Linked DNA regions of Homo sapiens: region 1 is linked to region 2. Evidence: promoter capture Hi-C in 16 types of primary human blood cells and fetal thymus (Javierre and others, 2016). All regions are on one chromosome and are shown on one strand. Each heading gives the region's core, a stretch centred on a gene start or on the middle of the fragment in contact. The rest is flanking DNA. Distances are from core to core; before and after follow the strand shown.

The links. Contacts are between HindIII fragments. The CHiCAGO score rates a contact against its expected background, and 5 or more counts as called.
Region 1: a fragment that was not itself captured here is called in contact with the fragment with the promoter of INPP4B in region 2 in 1 of 17 cell types (non-activated CD4 T cells); the score reaches 6.8 in non-activated CD4 T cells.

What each region holds. Positions count from the first base shown.
Region 1 is chr4:142,228,806-142,231,656 of GRCh38, forward strand. All of the region lies in intron 12 of INPP4B (inositol polyphosphate-4-phosphatase type II B), which reads right to left. Among named protein-coding and RNA genes, the nearest start is that of IL15, 590 kb to the left of the region's middle. The HindIII fragment of the contact is 6,725 bases long and covers 1-2,851 here.
Region 2 is chr4:142,845,034-142,847,993 of GRCh38, forward strand. INPP4B (inositol polyphosphate-4-phosphatase type II B) reads right to left here and starts at 1,268. Exons shown (of 26, transcript NM_001101669.3): 1 at 1,176-1,268. The region is part of intron 3 of USP38-DT (USP38 divergent transcript); the gene reads right to left. RefSeq lists an enhancer at 2,025-2,611. The HindIII fragment of the contact is 4,051 bases long and covers 1-2,960 here.

The DNA of each region.
Region 1 (2,851 bases), core at 269-2,768, 620 kb before region 2:
TTGTAAGTCAAAAGGAAAAATAGGAATATCCCAGTTTCCACATAAGCATTTATGTGTATTTGTGTGGATATTTGTAATAAATATATAGATAAATGTTCAACCACACAGGTAATCAAAAACTATAATTTTAAAAAGTAATAAGAGTTTAAGTTTTGCCTATGTAATTGATGGAAGTAAAATTGATGCAAACTTTTTAGAGGCAAGCTGAAATATAAAACCAAGGCCCTAAAATACATACACACTTTGTCTCAGTAATTTCACTTATTGTATTTAAACCTAGAGAATACTGAAGATGTACACGAATATGTATTTATAAGGTTTTCTACATTTAATTTATTTATATAATATGTTTAATATATATTGATGTATAATATAAATTTAAGCAACAATTTATATTTCCCTTATGGAGCAGTTCTATGACAGAACATCATATGACCATTACAAATCATACTGTAGGGAACCATTTGTGAAGGATGTCAGAATATACATGATAAACGGGGAAAAATAAAGTTATAAAATGAAGCATAGTGTGATTCTCAATAAAGTATTTAGATTCCTATATAAAATATACAGCACTATTAATACATGAACTATATAAGGCTTTGACAATGGTGCCTTATTCAAGATGATAGATAAGCCATTTGTGGTACTGATAGTGGAAGGTGGTAGGTAGATGAATACCGCCCTGCTTTCCACATGGCCGGTGAATGGTGTATAAGAAATCTAAAAGATTATACACATCCCATTGAGGGCTTACGGAAGTCCTGAAAATGCCAATGTTTTGATAGAGGCATATGATCAGGACCAAGCAACTCTCAAGTGCAGGCACCTCAAGATCAGATGCAAGGAAGTACAAATAGAGATGCCAGAATATCACTCAAAAGCCAGATGAAGCTAATGCATCTCCATGATTATCGGTCATCCCATAATAGAAACTCCTAGGCATCCAAATAATACTACAAGGAATCAAGAATCCCTTTGTTACTGATGCTATGAAGACATAGTAAGCTGACCTCATTTACCTGTATATTTTTGGGGGGATAGGGAAGAAGGAAAGTAAAATTCTAAATTACTGCTAATTTTTCTAAAAAGATAGAGTCATCCAAACTTTTTAAACCAAGCCTGAGGAGAAGCTAAATTTTGAACAGACTTTGATATTTAGATGGGAAGTAAGCTATTTAAACTAGAAGAAACCAAGGTACCACTAACTGGCAAGTCTAAATAGCCTAGACTACTTGTAAGGGTTCGTGTATTCATTTTATTTTTCTGTGAAACAAATTACTACTCTAAATCCATCACCAAGAAATAACCATTGTTCATATGTTAGTATACTTCCTTCTAGTCTTTTTAATGTATTAAATTAAAATATTTTTAACTGATTAGTAGCCTATAGTTTTATTTAACATTATACAAAGAATCACAGATGTATACCTAATATAACTCAGATGTGCAGGAAAAATTAAGGATGATAACAGAGAGTGATGGTCACAGGAAACAAACCTCTCTCTACCACAGCGAGGCTCATGAAGATGACAGTAGATGTAGAAAATAAAAACAAGGCCGGGAGCGGTGGCTCACATCTGTAATCCCAGCACTTTGGGAGGCTGAGGCAGGTGGATCACCTGAGGTGGGGAGTTCGAGAACAGCCTGACCAACATGGAGAAACTCCATCTCCACTAAAAATACAAAATTATCTGCACGTGGTGGCGCTTGCCTGTAATTCCGGCTACTTGGAGGTTGAGGTAGGAGAAACACTTGAACCCAGGAGGCGAGGTTTTGGTGAGCCGAGATCACACCATTGCACTCCAGCCTGGGCAACAGTAGTAAAACTCCACCTCAAAAAAAAAAAAAAAAAAAAAGAAAAGAAAAACAAAATTGCCTTCCTTGGTGTGGATTTGAAGTGATTTTATCTTTTCTCTTTTATAAATTTTCTATATTTTTACTATTTCACATAGTGAGCATGTATTATTTTCATGGCAAAAACTCAATATACATTTTATATATCTGTAACTGTGGCTGCAGGAGCAAAGAATCAGAAAATTACTAAGCCCCCATATGAGCCTTTCTTCACAGCAGTAAACAACTTGAGAGATATCTAACATTTCCTCCTTGTGAATTTTTTTGGAACTAAACCATAATATTAAAAAAGTATAGTGTTATGAGAACACTTCACCGCCAATTCAAAAACTGCTATGTTTCAAACTTGAATTCAGAAGGTGTTAATGCTTAAGCCAATTGAAGGGAGCCCCCAAAGGATTTAAAGTGTATCACAACCCTGAGACTTTGTGTATGTACCATCTCAAATTTAATAAAAACAGTTCATGTTGAGTCCAAATGTCACACTAACTGTGAGACTAAGAGACTAACAGCAAGTGTGTTTTTTGATGGCAGCTGCAGGCAAGACAGACACTATGTGCAAGTGATGCAAAAGCAGTTGCTGCGCCGTTATGTCCCTGCCAACATTTCCACTCAATGTCAGGATTGGCTGCAAAGAATAACTTCCTCCATTCTCAATTTTACATATGTGTATGCTTTACACAAATAAGCAAACAGTGCACATATACGTGATTTCTGCAAACAAGACTCACACGGACTTATGCTTTCAGGTATACACCAACTTTAGATGTGTGAAAGTTAATAATATACTTTAATGTTATGAGTGGGATTTCATTCTCGCTGATTTAAAAAAATTATGAAACCACTAATAATATCTTGTTTGTAATATATAGTTTGACTATATATTTAGACGTTTCTATATAACATTTTCTTAATTCTATTCCTTTGCTATTTTCCTTCACAAGTAAATCCACAGTAAAAATTCAAGAAATCTTTATCTGTGAGGTGAAAAAAT
Region 2 (2,960 bases), core at 18-2,517:
AAGAGAAAGGAAAACTAGTTCTGGTTAGGGAGAAGATAAAAGAGGAAAAGGAGTAAATTTACATCCTTAAAACAAGAGTAATAGAAAACCCTACCGGGTTTTTCCAGTAAGTTTTGTGCAGCAGCAGCAACAACCTAATCAATATGTGCTTCCTCACCCTCTTGTCCCCAAAGAGAAACTGCTGGGCCCCTCTCCACCGACTCCCCAGGAGCAGAAACTACTGCCCCCAAGGAAGGGAGAATTCAGAAGCGTGGGGAGGGGGAAAAACAGGTATATGTGGTTCTAGCATCCTCATCTTCATATCAGCTACCAGCCTGAAACTACATTCAGGAACCAGGCTCCCAGACATTCCCCGGCCCTGGGCCCTGCCTGAGCGCCAGAGAGCTTGAGGAGCCTGCAGCATAGTTCTCAGACCCGAAACAATGACCTCCCCCGTCCAAACCCAGGCACTCTTGCGCCAAGGCCCTAACCTCTCAGCGAGACCTCTTTGGGGAAGGACAAGAGATGCTGCCTGATGGCCGAGAGAAGACATGCCAGGCTTCTCTGCCAGAATGAGTTGTTGAGGGTGGGATGAAGGTGGTCAAGGAGATGGGCTCTTTATTTTTAAAACAAAAAACAAGGCAACCGGGACCACCAACATCAGTCACCCTCACTCCCCACCACTGCCTCTATTCCTTAAGGACTTCTTCCCAGGCCGGCGGCGGCGGCGGCGGCGGCGGCGGCAGCTTGCGATCATCAGGATTGGAAGTGAGAGCGAGTGCCCGGGCCAACCTCAGCGTCTCTCAGGGACAGCGCAGGTGGGCGCAGCCTTGGAAGGTCAGCGAGGCCAGAGCTCAGAGTTCCACGGGGGCCCGGAGAGTGTGCGTGTGTGAGTGAGAATGCGAAAACGCGCGCGCGCCGGGCAGAGGGGCGCTCGGCGAGAGGGTAGGCGCGGTGACAGGGGTACCCCAGCAGCCGAGGAGAGACAGCCCACCCCACCCTTTAAGCTAAAGAGCTGGAGGGGTGATGGAGGCTGCAAGACGGAGAAACTTGATGCAAAACAGACAGGCTCCCCCCTCCAAGACGTGCCGCCACGCTCTCAGACACGCTCCCTCGCCTCCCGGATTACCCACCATCAACCACCCCACCCTGCAAAATTCCCCCACCGAGCCCTAGGATCCCAGGCGGGTAATTACCTCTCCCGGAGGCGGAGTGGGGGGCGGCAGCAGCAGCAGACACTTTTAGCCTGACTTTCCTGCGTTCGCTTGCGAGCGTGTGAGCGTGTGCGCGCCCAGGAGGAGCTGTAACCTGCTATTTATAGACCGAAGCCTCAGTACCCGGGGCTGAGAACCCGGAGGAAACTAGCAGGCGGCGGCGACGGCGCAGGGCGCCGGCCGCGGCTTCGCGAGGCTCCAGCAGCTCCCCCAGCCTCTGGCTTCGGCCGCGCTCCCTGCTCGCTCCTCGCCTACCAGCCCCGCGCGCGCCCCAGAGAAGTTGTCACCAGCGCGGCTGGCTCTCCGGCTGCTCACACGCCCCCTGGCACAATTGCTACTTTCTTCCACCCCAACCCCCACCCTCCCCGCTCCTCTTCCTCCTCCTCTGCTCTCTCCAAGCGGTCTCCTCCCAATGTCACCAGCGACCGAGTAGAGGCGGCCGTGGCAGCGACAGTCGCGCAACTGGCGCTGCTCGCTTCCCGCTACTGATAGAGCGGAGATGGTGGCCCGGCTGCCCACCCCGAAATTACCACGCTGGCTCCGTGTGCTCACACCCCGTACCCCGACCCCTTTCTGCGGCCCCTCTGCCCGCTGGGTCGCCCACCCAGACTGGGCTGTGGGATCACCGCTACCGCGACGAGGGGGGACCCGAGGCCGCCACGCTGCTGCGGGGGCAGGAGAAACCACAGAGAAAGAACCCGCGGGAGGAAGAAAGCGCCCCAGACCCCGGCCTATGGCAGCGCAGTCCCTAGACCGAGGGTTTTTGGAAGGGGCTTGGGATCCCTGCTGTCACTGCCTGCGTCTAGGCATCCATTCACGCCTGCTGGACCCCAGTCTGCAGCCGCGCTGGGACCCCTGTCTCTTGCCCCTCCTCCCCCTTGCCCCGGGCAGAGGTCGGGCTGAGGAGACCAGCTTAGAGCAGCCCTCGGCCACCCACCGCCAGTTCCCACGTCGCGGCGGGTGACTGAGGCCGAGATGCTCCCAACTAGCGTATGACATGCCTTTGATATCCCGGGTGCGTGGGGACAAATCCGCCCTGAATGTGTTGGGGTATCAGGAAAACGGGGTATGTAAGCAAGCAGTCTGGACGGAGACTAAAACTCCCCCACTTCCTAGCCCCTAACAAGCCCACAGGGGAAAGCACGCACCCTGGTTATTCCGGGCTGTGTAGGGTGTGGGGCAAATGACTCTCCCCATCTGCGCTTTACAGGTGCCACCTGGCGGCTCTCTCGGAAAGGTTTTGATGGAGCCGTTCAAAGGTAAAGGTGCCCAGAGCCAGCCCATCAAGACACCCCAGCCCTTCTCCCTGAGGGCGCTTTAAAATCACATTTTAAGTAAAGCAGTGTACGAATGCTTGTACACAAGTGTTACATTTGCCATGCAAAAAGACTGGAATCTCAAAGTCAGGACAGTGAAATCAATTTGGGTTAAGTCGGGGCTTAACAGTTTCACAAACCAGGAAGCTGTATGTACCCCCAGCTGTCACCCCTGCTGTCACTGCCCGCATCTAGGCATCCTTTCACTCCTCAAACCTTTGACCACCACATTATAAGCCTTGCCAATGAGGACAGGGACTTTGGGTTTGTTTTGTTTTGTTTTGTTTTGTTTTGTTTGGTGGGGGGAGTTGTTTGTTCGTTTCATTTATTTTTTTCATCACTCTGCTCCCAGAGCTTGGGACAATACCTAATATTCTGTAGTTTCAATAAATGTTTATAGAATCAAATAATAAACACTATAGGCCAGAAACTGCTTGGCGCCCCCGAAGCC